3 separate regions of the Homo sapiens genome follow, and regions 2 and 3 are each linked to region 1. Evidence: promoter capture Hi-C in human tissues and cell types (Jung and others, 2019). All regions are on one chromosome and are shown on one strand. The core of a region is centred on a gene start or on the middle of the fragment in contact, and the rest is flanking DNA. Distances in the headings are between cores, read along the strand shown.

Region 1 (4,484 bases), core at 805-3,304:
TACAGATGGCACAACTGAGACTTGGGAGTGGAGGGCACAGGGCTCCTCCCATGGGGACCCTGGGAGCCACCAGAGGCCCCAGATGCTCCTGCCCCTCTGGGAACAGTCTTTCCCCAGACATTGCACTCCTCAAAGCTGCATTTTCAATTAACTGTGCCGCTGAGGGATGTGGCCTGGGTGCCAGCTGGGTGCCAGGTTTTGAGGGCTGGGCTGAGTCCTGCAGGCAGGGCCCGCTTCCCACCGGACACCTACCTGCCCAGCCCCAGGCAGCGAGGGAACCCTGCGTGCAGATGTGTAACTGCCATGAATGCGGTTTTGCAAGTTTTGCCACATCCAGCCCCTGACACAAACAGGGCTGATGAGGGCTGTGGAGACCAGGAGGGAAGCAGGGAGCTTCCTCCGGGTGGGGCTGCCTTGGGGCACAGGGGGCAGTAAGCTGGCCAACAGAAGCTGACTCATGCCCCCCAACCCCACCATACAGATGTGGAAACTAAGGCCAGAGGGACAGAGCAGCCTCCCACGTCCTGGGGTGAACACCACACAGGATCAGTGGCCTCCGCGACGGCTGGTAGGAGGGAAGTAGGCAAGGAGAGAGGGATGTACTCATCTGGATGGGATGGCCACTGCCTTCCCAGACTGTCCCAAGCTTGGGACATTCTGATCCCCCTGCAGTCCCCAGGAAGCGGAGCCTCAGAGTCCTCTGGCTTCTAGTCCCTCCTGCAGGCCCTGGGATGGCTCCTCATGGAGAAACCAGGTTCCCAGTCCCCGGCTGGGCACAGATGGTACCGGGATGGCTGAGGCCATGACCCTACCCCTGTGAGGGGCACAGCTCAAAGGGCTCTGGCCTCATCCCCTGATACCAACCACCATGGGGTTAATCCTGGGGTCGGTGAATTAGGGAAAGCCAGGTAGCCTCTGGGCAGCACAAGCCAGGAGCACTACTGTCCTATGGGTTAGGAGAGGCCCGGGGGAGTGGGTGCCAGACCGGGGCAGCATCACCTCCTACCCAGCTAGCCCGAAAGCTGGTGAACCGTGTGCACCCTCCCCATTGCACCGGTAAAGGGACAGATGCCCCTGCCAGCCCCAGGAGAGCACCTAGTCGCGCACACGGAGTCCCCAGGCACACCTCTGAAGGGGATACACGCTCATCCCTGTGGTGTAGTGTGGGGCTCCGACACGCCACCCCTACACTCCAGGCCGTGTACACACATCACACCGTGCCGGGCACGGGCGGCATCTGCACACCCGCCACATGTGTACGCGTTGATCACACACCAAACGCACCAGGGGGCTGCGCGTTCACACGCGCGCCAACGTGCCCGCAGGTCCGCCACCTCCCCGGTGCCCGGCCGACGCCGTGGCGCGGTGCGTGCGTAAACACAAATGCACATGGACGTGTGCGCACGCCGCCGACCGCCCACCAGGCACGCGGACCCTCGGACCACTCGCCCGGAGCGGCTCCGCCCTCCGGCCCAGCTCTGCCGAGGCCTGGGGCGTCCTCCTTCCGGCCGCCCGCCCGACTGTCCGTCTGCACCGCGGGGCCGCCCGGCCCTCGGCCGTTACCCGGACAAAAGGGGTGGGGGGGGTCCCCGTCTCGATCCCGGGGGACTCGCGGCCCCGCGGGGGCGGCGTATCCCCGACCGGTGGCCCGGTTCCCACCTCCGCCCGCCGCGAGCCCTTGGGATCCGGACGCCGGGCACCGCCGTCGGGAAAGCGGGTCGGGTCTGCGGCCCGGAGGGGGCGCACAGCCGGCACGCGTCCACGCCGTCCGCCCCCGCCCGGCGGCCACGCGGGACACACTCCGCCCGTGGCCCCGGCCCTCGCCCGGCTCCGGCGCCGCGCACCTCGAACTGCCAGTGGGCCGCCTGCAGCAGTTGCTTCGCCTGGTCGGCCGCGCAGCCCGCCGTCAGCACGAACTGGTTGATCATGACCTGGTGCTTGAGCTCGTCCATGTTCACGGACATGGCGCCGCCGCGCTGCCCGCTCCGGCCTCCCTCCTCCGCCCGCGCCTCCGCCTCACGCGTCCACCATTAGCGAGCCGGCTCCGGCTAATACAAATATTTACTGTGCGGCTCTGACTCACCGCGCCTCGCCTCGCTCCGCCGGCGCCGCGGCATGCTGGGATATGTAGTCCCCACGGTGCGCCGGGCGCCCCGGGGGAGCGGGGCCGGCACCCTAGGGGACGCGAAGCCCGGGAAGGGGCGTGTCTGAGCACCGAGCGCCCGCTGTGCGGATGTCCGGGCCGTAACCCGAGCCGGGCGCGTCCACGTCGTCCTCGTTGCTCTCGGTGGCACCCGTGCCCCTGCTCTGGCACGGATGGGGGTCCGCTGGCGGGGGCCACGTCTGTGCATGGGCGCAAATGCCTGACCACAGGATCTTGGCCAAGGCCTGGGGACCGTGTCTGAACTGTGAGCGCCTACTGTGTGTGGATGCCCGGGCCGTGACCAGGGTTGGGGGAGTCCACGTCGCCCTCGTTGCTCTGGGTGGCACCCGGCCCCTGCTCTGGCACGGATGGAGGTCCGCAGGCGGGGGCCTCAGGTTCGTGCATAGGCGTTTTTGCCAAGGCCCAGGAACGGTGTCTGAAAACTGAGTGCCTAATGTGTGCAGGCGCCTGAGCTGGGACCAGAGCCAGTCACGTCCACGTCGCCCTCGTTGCTCTCGGTGGCACCCACGCCCCTGCTCTGGCGGGAATTAGGAGCCCAGAGGCCGGGGCCACAGATCTGTGCATGGGCGCAAACGCCAGGCCACAGACGTCTTTGCCATGCCCCGGGGACTGTGACTGAACGCTAAGTGCCTACTGTGCGCAGCTGTCCAGACCGTGACCAGAGCCAGGCACGTCCATGTCGCCCTCATTGCTCTCGGTGGCACCCGTGCCCCTGCTCTGGCACGAATTGGGGTCCCAAGGTGGGGCATACAGATCTGTGCATGGGCGCAAACGCCGGGCCACAGGCGTCTTTGCTAAGACCTAGGGACCCTGAACCCCTCTGTGATTGGCATCGCTCTGTGTTAAATAGTAGGCACGCCCTTAAGAGAGGGGTCTCTAGGAATTTTGGCCCAAATCGGCTGGTCTAGGCTGAAAGGCCCGGCACACTGTAGGCGCCGACAAATACTCGTTCAGTGAATGAATGAATGAGCCACTTAAAAGCTCCGCCGCACGTCACCGCCTATAGCTAGCCTCCTAGCTCTCCTCACTCAATCTCTCATCGCCCACTCGTGGCATGGGTCCTTCCTAGCCTGGCTCTGGGCCTGCCCCACTGTAGCCCCATGACCCTCTGGACGGCGCCTGGGACAGGCTGGCGGGGCCAGCAGCCTCTGGTGCTTCGGGGTCCCCCTCCCAGCAGTTCTCCCGCTTTCCCACGCAAAATCTCGTGCTCTTTGCCGGAAATCTCGGCCCTTAGCGGGCGGGCGCCAAGGCCCGGCAGAGCCAGTTCCGGAGCGGCCCCAAACTCCCTTTCCCAGAATGCCTCGGTTTATTTGCATCGTTTGGTCCCGGTGACGTCAGCTGAGTGAGGTCGTGCCTCGACCAATGGACAGCCTCGGGGTGTTAGGACCTGGCCATATAAGGTAAACAAAGCTGGTCGCCCAATGAAGAGGCGGCGGGGGCGGGCGCTGGGCCGGGGAGGCCGGGGGCGGAGCCGGGGGCGGGGCGACCGGGCGGTGTTTACAGACCGGCACATGGCGCTTCCGGTTGACGTTGCTGACAGCTAGTGAGGCTTTAGCCCGCTTCGAGCGCCCGGGGGCGGTAAGGCGCGATCATAGCAGCTCTAGGTGACCTTGGTCCGGCTCCTTGCGCCCCCTGGCCCCAGCCTCCTTCGTTGAGACACTATTTGTTGAGTCTTTCCTCTTTTCCTGGCCCTGACCTAGCGTGGGGCGACAGAAGAGCAATAGCCGGGTGGGGGCTGTGAGAACGGCTGGGGTTGGGAGCGAATTTCGGAAACCCGGAGGACGAGTATAGCCTTGCAAGATGGAAAATGCCCTCCCGGGCTGGCGCGGTGGCCTGTAATCCCACCTACTCGGGGTCCGAGGAGGGAGGATTGCCTAGGCCCAGGACTTTGAGAACACGCCTCTACAGAGATTTACATTTTAAGAAAATTAGCTGAGTTCGGGTCGGGCGCAGTGGCTCACGCCTGTAATCCCAGCACTTTGGGAGGCCGAGGCTGGCGGATCACCTGAGGTCAGGAATTCGAGACCAGCCTGACCAAAACGGCGAAACCCGTTCTCTACTAAAAATACAAACACTAGCCGGGCGTGGTGGCAGTCGCCTGTAATCCCAGCTACTCCAGAAGCTGAGGCAGGAGAATCGCTTGAACCCAGGAGGCGGAGGTTGCAGTGAGCCGCGATCGCGCCACTGCCCTGCAGCCTGGGCCACAGAGCAAGACTCTGTCTCAAAAAAAAAAACCAAAAAACAAAGCAACAACAAAAAAACAGAGAATTAGCTGGGTTCCATGGCTCACACCTGTAAGTAATCTCAACACTTTAGGAGG
Region 2 (4,484 bases), core at 1,351-3,850, 250 kb after region 1:
ACTTTGGGAGGCCGAGGTGGGAGGATCACCTGAGCCCAGGAGTTCCAGACCAGCCTGGGTAACAGAGTGAGAAAAAAAAATCTAAAAATTAGTCAGGCGTGGTTGCGTGCAGCTGTAGTCCCAGCTGCTTGGGAAGCTGAGGCGGGAGGATTATTTGAGCCTGGGAGGTCAAGGCTGTATGAGCTGCGATCACGTCACTGCACTCCAGAATGGGTGACAGAGTGAGACCATCTCAATAAAATAAGATGCTGGGCATGGTGGCTCAGCCTGTAATCCCAGCATTTTGGGTGGCTGAGGCGGGCGGATCACTTGGGGTCAGATGTTTGAGACCAGCCTGGCCAACATGGTGAAACCCCATCTCTACTAAAAATACAAAAAATTAGCCGAACATGGGGGTGGGTGCCTGTAATCCCAGCTACTCAGGAGGCTGAGGCAGGAGAATCACTTGAACCCGGGAGGTGGAGGTTGCAGTGAGCTGAGATCACGCCATTGCACTCCAGCCTGGGCAACAGAACAAGACTCCGTCTCAAAAACTAAACTAAAATAAAAAAATAAAAAATAATAAGATAAAATTTGATTGGAAGTTTAAGCTGTAGATGGGTCTGAAAGTGTGGCATGTGAAATACATGTTAATTAGTTTGAATTAATGTAAGGGTGCTTCTCGATCTTAAAACTAGCAGTGTAAGCTTAAGCAAAAAAAGTTCAGTTTTATTTTTTCCCAGACTAATATAATTCTAGTACCTTCCAAGTGCTAAGGTAGAATTCTGAATGTTTCCAAGAGTGTAAGAAATTGGCACATGGCTGGGTGAAAAGTCATGCCCTTTTTTTCCATTATTCGTCTGTGGATTTCACCCCTCTGGGCTTTCACCTAGCCAAGGGATCTGTAGAAGCTTGAGTTTTGCGCATTTTCTTCTGACTTAGTTTTGGTTGTTTGGTGTTAAGCTTTTCTTCCTGTGGCGTGCCGTTTTACAGTAGTATCTTCATTTGTTGATTCATTCACTCAGTCAACATTTAGTAAATATTATGTGACAGGCAGCCATGGGAAATATACTGATGAATAAGACTCAGTTCTATATTTTATTTTATTATTATTTTTTAAGACAGGGTCTTGCTCTGTCACCCAGGCTGGAGTGCAGTGGCACGATCTTGCCTTACTGCAACCTCCACGCCCAGGGCTCAAGTGATCCTGCCACCTCAGCCTCCAGAGTAGTTGGGACCACAGGCATGCACCACCATGCCCAGCTTTTTTTTGTATTTTTAGTAGAGACAGGGTCTCATCATGTGCCCAAGCTGGTCTGAAACTCCTGAGCTCGCGTGTTCCGCCCACCTTGGCCTCCCAATGTGTTAGGATTACAGGTGTGAGCCACCGCGCCGGGCCAAGGTTCCATTCTTGTCTTTCATGAGCTCGTTACATAAATGGACCCGATAGATACGCAGACAATGGACTGTAGTACAGAGCAGAATGAAGTAAGCTTTGTGATGTGTGGACGGCCAGATAGCCGGACTTAAGGGGTTAAAGAGAGGCTCTTGGGGGGCATATAGGAAGCAGACTGGAGGCAACAGGCTTCGCCGGCCTCCTGGGGAAGATGCCCTAAGAGAAGGCAGGGAGCAGAGCTGAAGATGGGCGAGTTGGTGGATGGCTGGGCCAGATCGTGGAGGACCCCAAATGCCATGTGAAGGAGTTTGGGTTTGATACCAGGCTTGGAAAGAGCTGCTGAAGGGTTCTGAAGAAGGGAGTGGCGGTCTTAAGGTTGGAGTGCAATTATTAGAAGTGGGGAACACAGGGGAAGAGCAGAAGCCAGTGGGTCTGGTGTAAGTTGAGTTTGCAAACCAGAGGGTCATCCATCCACAGAAGTGCAGTTGACCCTTGAACAACACAGGGTTTAACTGCGTGGATCCACTTACACGCAGATGTTTTCTAACCAAATGTGGGTTGATTTGAGGGATGCTAAATCTGTGTATAGAGGGCTAACTTTTTGTATAGGCAGGTTCCTCAGGGCTGACTGTGCAGTTGGATTTTGGTATATACGGGGGTCCTGTAACCAATCCCCTGCCTATACCAGGCGTTGACTGTAATTGGGAAATTTCTCAGAGATAACTGGAAATTCTGGTCCAGAGCTTAGATGAGAGGATTTAGGGCTTAGTTTAGATTTGAGTGTACAATTGTCTGTGTTATTTTGAAGCCCTGAGGGGGAAAGAAGTTATTGGGAGAAGTGGGTTCTAGTGAGAATCCTGGGGTCCGCCTATGGAAAGGAGCTGGTGGAGGAGGCAGATGGAGCAGTTAGAGTGGTTGGAAGGGGCCCCAGAGGATGCAGTGAGAGGAAGGTGAGTGGGGGAGATGATGGTGAGGGGTTAGCAGTGTCTGCAATTTCAGAGGGGTTGATCCCTTCATTCTAGATAGTCACCTTATCACCCTTGTTTGCTGTCGTTACTGTATATCATGTCTGATTTCAGAAATTTTATTTCACCCAAAGCCTTCAGACCAGCAGCTCTTGGGTTGAGAGGAATGGTTCCCAGCCCTTTTTGCACATCAGTGTTCCCAGGGTTGCTTTGAAAGAGTACTTGGGCCACTTTTGAGAGTGTGCATTCCTGAATCTCCTTTCCAGAGACTGTGATTTGAATGGCCTGAGTTGCTCCAAGCTGCCCAGGGAATTCCAATATGCAACCAAGTGTGAGAACCCTGATGCAGACTTCCACAGGGTCTGCTTTTTTGTGTTCCCGCTGTGTCGTGGCTGCCTGCCGTGGTTGCTTCAGGGGTCTCTGAGCTTGCCATCCAGGGTGTGTGTTAACTGTGTTCTTTTCGAAAGCAAACTAAGACTGTACTGAAACTCCTATAATCTGGTGTTAATAGGTAATATGGTGGGTTAATTATTCACATGGTCTGGCTAATAGAGAGCTCGTGGTATACCATAAGTAGATTAGGAATTGTCAAAGAGTTTTAATGTCCTTAAGTGTTAGAGCTACACATTATTATTATTTTTGTAGATAAAAAGGCCTTTAAATCCTATAGACTGGTTGAAGTTCTTGAATATTTTTGTACTGTAGATACATGGAAATCCCAACTAATGGTGTAGTTGATGGTGTATGGGTGCAGGGGTTAGTTGGCCTTATTGGCCTCTGGCTAAGTGCATTGTGATGGCTTTGACTCTGATTTTCTTTTCTGTGACTGTTTTAAGTCCCAGGAAGAACTGGCAGCCCACAGATGCTGCAGCAGCATTTGAAAAGAGAATATTGATCGCAGGCGAACTTAACCTGGGACTAGGGTGGAGTTGGAAAGGTGGCGGTGTGACTGTATTGACAGGTGCTCTTTATGGAGCGATGACTCCTGTGCCTGTGGGTGAGCGTAAGGGACATGTGGGGAAAGTGCACTAACGGCTGTTACTGTCTGCTGTGCACCAGGCTGCCAGAGCTGCTGAGGGGGAGAGCAGACAGAAGTTCTTCACCCAGGATATTAATGGAATCCTATTAGAGTGAGTATCGTCTGTCTGTCTGTCTGTCTGTCTGTTTCTGCTATTACTGAGCTTGGGGCAAGCCAGCTAGGGGACAGTGGGAGTACAATTGAACTGCATAAAGGTGACCACCAAGGAGATAAAAGAAGAATTGGATTAACATGGTTTCATTGTTATTTTTCTTTTAAAAATCAAAACACAACAGGGACACCAAGTACTTGTCTCCAGAAGCGATAGACCTCCTTGATCTTAGGCAGCAGGCATTAATAACATGTGATAATCATGGCCTGTTAGAAGAGGATTTCTTGGCAGGTATGAGATGAGGAGAGAGAGAAGGTGTTGCCTGACTGTCTCTGAGAATCCTGAAGAATGAGAGACAGCCTGGTGGCCTCGGGCCTGCTCTGCCTTGGGTGTTGCTTGGCGTCCCTGGCTGTTCCGCTCGCTGGCACTCCTGTTCCTAGTGCCACGTGCATCATCCCTAATGCTGTTCCCACATGCCTGAGCCTCTGAGACACCACGCTGTGTGAATCGGGTTAAAAAACAGATGAGCAAACATTTGTAAATCCAGACTGGGAAAAGTGAATCCTTGTGGCCTGGCCTGCAGTGTTGCCGCTTTTCTCCTGGTTGCAGTTTGTGGCAGGGGAAGCTTGTTGCTCAACAGCTGAGGAGTTTGTGTGTGTAAGAACAGTTGTCAAAATGTGGGTGTTCTACCACATGGCCTCGCCTGGCCGGGACCTGGATTGGCCCCTTGGGTCAGGAAGTGTGAGCTGCAGAGAGCACCTGAGCATTGGTGCGGACGATAGGATTGTGTCAACAAGGAACCTGCTTGAGCGTGCCAAATGTGGACAGCTCAAGGCATTGAAGAGAAATATTTTTTTGCTTATCTAGATGGAGAAACTGGAGGGGTGAGGCTTTCCCTGACCTCATAATGGTTGATAAACGTGGGGACTGGGGGAAAAAAAAGAAATGCTGCCGGGAAGTGTCTCCTTTGAACCCCAAGTAACTCATGACTTTCCACTTTGAAAGCTTTCATGT
Region 3 (4,484 bases), core at 885-3,384, 210 kb after region 1:
TTTTATTATGCGTTGTTTTATTGTGCTTTGTAGGTGTTGCACTTAAAAAAACAAACAAACAAACAAACAAAAAAAACGGGCCAGGCACGGTGGCTCACGCCTGTCATCCCAGCACTTTGGGAGGCCGAGGCAGGTGGATCATGAGGTCAGGAGATCGACACCATCCTGGCTAACATGATGAAACCCCGTCTCTACTAAAAACACAAAAAATTAGCCGGGCGTGGTGGCGGGCACCTGTAGTCCCAGCTGCTCCAGAGGCTGAGGCAGGAGAATGGCATTAACCCAGGAGGCGGAGCTTGCAGTGAGCCGAGATTGCGCCACTGCACCGCAGCCTGGGCGACAGCACGAGACTCCGTCTCAAAAAAAACAAACCAAAAAACCAAAAAACCAAAAAACGAATTGAAGGTTTGTGGCAACCCAGTATCAATCAAATCTATGGGGGACATTTTCCCAACAGCATGTGTTCACTTTGTGTCTCTGTCAGCATTTTTTTTTTTAAGCAATGAAGTATTTTTAACTTAAGGCATGTATATATATATATTTTTTTGAGATGGAGTCTCGCTCTGTCACCCAGGCTGGGGTGCAGTGGCGTGATCTCGGCTCACTTCAAGCTCCGCCTCCCGGGTTCACGCCATTCTCCTACCTCAGCCTCCTGAGTAGCTGGGACTATAGGCGCCCACCACCATGCCCGGCTAATTTTTCGTATTTTTAGTAGAGACGGGGTTTCACCGTGTTAGCCAGGATGGTCTCCATCTCCTGACCTCATGATCCGCCCGCCTCGGCCTCCCAAAGCGCTGGGATTACAGGCGTGAGCCACCGCGCCCGGCAAAGGTATGTACATTTTAAAAAGACATATTGCTATTGTACCACTTAATAGACTACAGTATAAACCTAACTTTAACATGCAATGGGAAACCAAGACGTTTGTGTGACCTGCAATGATCTGGAATCGAACCTGCAGTATCTCCAACGTATGCTACACTACTCCCCAGATTAATAATTCAGACCCAAGGGCTGTCTGCAGTTTATTGGGAGCTCGTGAGACGAGTTCCTGTAAGCCTGGGCAGTGGCCTCTGGGGTTCTCACTGTACAAACGGCCAGTGTCTGCGAAACAAACCTAAAGAACTGATCAAATGCCTTGTACACAGGCACTGTTCTAAGTGCTGTGTCCATGTCACTCATTTAACTAACACAGTGAACCTAGGAGGCACGTACTGTTGTAATTCCTAACGATGAGACAAGGAAACTGGGGCAAAGGTGCTTTGCTAAGGTCCTATATACGTGATTCAAACTCCAGGCCCTCGTCATAACCTCTCCTTTGTACTTCCCTTTATCCAACGAGAAGGTATTTCTTTCCAGGGTGGCACAGGCACCGGTGAGATGCATGGCTTCACATACCAGACAATATCAATTTGGGAAATAGCATAAAATCTGACAGCCCAGATTCCTTTTGGATTCCAGGAAATAAACTCAGAAGTCACATTACATTTTTTGTGGGTCAATTTAGATCATGTTCCCTATAAAGTTCTCTCTGCACTGCAGCTGGCAGCTTTTCCAAACCTTGGGCTGACGGTATGCAGGGACAGCACTGCCACCCTTGCTCTCACCACTCCCTCAGCCTGAGGTCATCTAACAGTGAGAAGGGCTGTCTCTCACCAGAGGCCTCACACTGGCAGCCCACAGAGATGTTTCTATGGCCCCAAGACATATTTTTGAACTAAGCACATTTAAAATTGGGATATTTCACATAAAAACCTGTATTTCCAGCTTCTCTCTTTTTTTGGAGATAGGGTCTCACACTGTTGCCCAGGCTGGAGTGCAGTGGTGGAATTGTAGGTCACTACAGCCTTGACCTCCTGGGCTCAAGTGATCCTCCCACCCCAGCTTCCCAAGTAGGTGGGACTACAGGTGTGTACCACTATGCCCAACTAGTACTTTTTGTTTCTTTTTTTGTTGTTTTTTTTGAGACAGGGTCTCGCTGTGTCACCCAGACTAAAGTGCAGTGGCATAATCTTGGCTCACTGTAACCTCCACCTCCTGGGTTCAAGTGATCTTCTCATCTCAGCTTTCTGAGTAGGGGGGACTACAGGCACACACCACCAACCCCAGCTAATTTTTAATTCATTTATATTAAATTTTTTTTTTTCTTTGAGACGGAGTCTCACTCTGTCGCCCAGGCTGGAGTGCAGTGGCGCAATCTCGGCTCACTGCAACCTCTGCCTCCTGGGTTCACGTGATTCTCCTGCCTCATCCTCCCGAGTAGTTGGAATTACAGGAGCGTGCCACCACACTCGGGTAATTTTTGTATTTTTAGTAGAGACGGGGTTTCTCCATGTTGGTCAGGCTGGTCTCGAACTCCCGACCTGAGGTGAACCACCTGCCTCGGCCTCCCAAAGTGCTGGGATTACAGGTGTGAGCCACTGCACCCAGCAAAAAAAATTTTAATAGAGATGGGGTTTCCCTATGTTGCCCAGGCTGGTCTAGAACTCCTGGGCTCAGGGGATCCTCCTGCACTGGCCTCCCAAAGTGCTAGGATTACAGGTGTGAGCTACCATGCCTGGCCAATTTTTTAGTTTTTGTAGAGCTAGTCTTCAACTCCTAAGCTCAAGCAATCTGCTCACCTCAGCCTCCGAAAATGCTGGGATTACAGGCATAAGCCACTGCACCTGGCCAACTTTGTCTTTTTTTTTTTTTTTTTTTTAAGGGAAAGGCTCTTACTATGCTTCTCAGCCTGGTCTTGAACTCCTGGGCTCATGTGATCTTCCTGCCTCAGCCTCCCAAAGTGCTATGATTGCAGGTATGAGACACCACAACTGGCCTTCCCAGCTTCTCTTGAGAAAAAACAGACAATTTGGCAGAAGCTGGCTAGAACCCTGTGGACAGAGCATGACCTCCCCAGACTCCCTGACCATGGCCAGCCCTGCTGCTCTGAGCACCAAGGCAGGTCAGCTGGGGTGCCTGGCACCCGTGCCACTGCTTCTTAGGTCCAGTCAGCTACAGTTGCTTCCATTACCTGCCTGGGCTCGCTGGTGTCTGAATTTTTGAGCCTTGATCCAAGGTCTAATGTTCCATCATGGCCTCGTCACCCAACTGTTGCTGCCAGCCATCTGGCTTCTGTTCTCTTTATCCTGCTGTTGACAATCCTACCGCGTTCCTGACACAGTCCCCTTCACTTTGAAATTCTTCTCTGTGGCCTTGTAAGACCGGCCCCAAATCTTGTCAGCAAGAAGGCGAGAGAGGCACTCTCACTGCTTTATCTCATCTTGCTAGCTCCTCCTGCTCCTTCCTGCCCCAAGCACGGCATTCTTGTGGCAATGCAGGCCTCCGCGCTTCCCTCTTCTCCCTCTCTTCCTGAAACAAACCCATTCCACTGCCCGGACTCAACTACCCTTTTACAAATTCACCTCCCAAATCTACATTTCTAGTCCTGAGGTCACACCAAGCTCCCAGGCTGTCTAGGCCTTGCCTCAAGTTCTTGACATTCCAAACAGAACTGGTACTCTTTCTCCACAAGCCACCTCTACATCCCCAGTCCTCTACTTTTAAGAAAGTGATGACCACTTTCCCAGGAATGAAGATGGAAATCCTCTTTTCCTTTTTCTCATTCATCCTCTATATAACCAATTATGGAATCTTAAGAACTCTTCCTCTGAAGTGCCTCTCACCTCTTTGCTTGCAACATTTGCAATTACCCCCTTATGAATGCACGCCTAGACTTACCTCCTAATTGGCTCTGAGACTTTCCCCTCTGCACTCGGTGACTACTGGTGCACACACGGGAGGCACACACTGCCACTGGCTCAGTCACCTTCCCGGGCCCCCACTGACTCCAAGACGCTTTAGTACCACGCTGCTTCAGTAGACCTTCAGGCCCTCCACGATCCAGGGACAAGCTTCCTTTTTCTCGGCTTTCCTCACTATCCTCTCCCTGTTCGAGAGTATCTCCACCAGCACCGAGCCTCACACGGGCTGTGCCCTCCATCTTTGGAATGCCTACCCTTCTTTCTTGCTAAGCCCCTCCCAGGGCCAGCCCTTGTGCACCGGCTCAAGTGGACTGCTCTCCTGCCTCGCGCTCCTACTTTACACCTGCATCCAGGCCGTGTCTCTCACCTGGTCTATGGGATTCTTTATTTTTTAATTTTTTAAATAAGATTCGGGGTCTCACTCCATCACCCAGGCTAGAATGCAGTGGTGCAATCGGCTCAATGCAACTTTGAGCTCCAAGGCTCAAGCCATCTTCCTGACTCAGCCTCCTGAGTTGCTGGGATAAAGCATGAGCCACCGCACCTGCCCTGCAGGATTCTTGAGCACAGAATTCTGCTCCCACTCCATGAGCAGAGTATAGATAAGCATACTACATAAGCATACTGTAGAGCTTAACTCTACCTTGTACTAAAAGGACATCACTAATCCCGGAAGCTGCAGAGAGAAAACAAACCTTCTCATCCTTTGGGGGCCGACCCCGCTTCCGGGGACTTTGCTCT

The links. Contacts are between HindIII fragments. The study calls those that stand out against the background at their distance.
Region 2: a contact is called between a fragment that was not itself captured here and the fragment with the promoter of UBALD1 in region 1, in 1 of the 25 tissues and cell types used here (dorsolateral prefrontal cortex).
Region 3: a fragment that was not itself captured here is called in contact with the fragment with the promoter of UBALD1 in region 1 in 1 of the 25 tissues and cell types used here (thymus).

What each region holds. Positions count from the first base shown.
Region 1 is chr16:4,612,834-4,617,317 of GRCh38, forward strand. It overlaps UBALD1 (UBA like domain containing 1), which reads right to left and starts at 2,055. Exons shown (of 3, transcript NM_145253.3): 1 at 1,845-2,055. The coding sequence starts at 1,964. RefSeq lists silencers at 1,236-1,405, 1,486-1,595, 1,636-1,735, 2,076-2,315, 3,559-3,788 and enhancers at 2,267-2,839, 2,840-3,411, 3,249-3,508. The HindIII fragment of the contact is 16,802 bases long and covers 1-4,484 here.
Region 2 is chr16:4,865,434-4,869,917 of GRCh38, forward strand. UBN1 (ubinuclein 1) reads left to right here. Exons shown (of 18, transcript NM_001079514.3): 8 at 3,400-3,470. Among named protein-coding and RNA genes, the nearest start is that of UBN1, 20 kb to the left of the region's middle. The HindIII fragment of the contact is 3,369 bases long and covers 917-4,285 here.
Region 3 is chr16:4,827,541-4,832,024 of GRCh38, forward strand. It overlaps GLYR1 (glyoxylate reductase 1 homolog), which reads right to left. Exons shown (of 16, transcript NM_032569.4): 5 at 4,439-4,484. Among named protein-coding and RNA genes, the nearest start is that of GLYR1, 18 kb to the right of the region's middle. The HindIII fragment of the contact is 6,084 bases long and covers 1-4,484 here.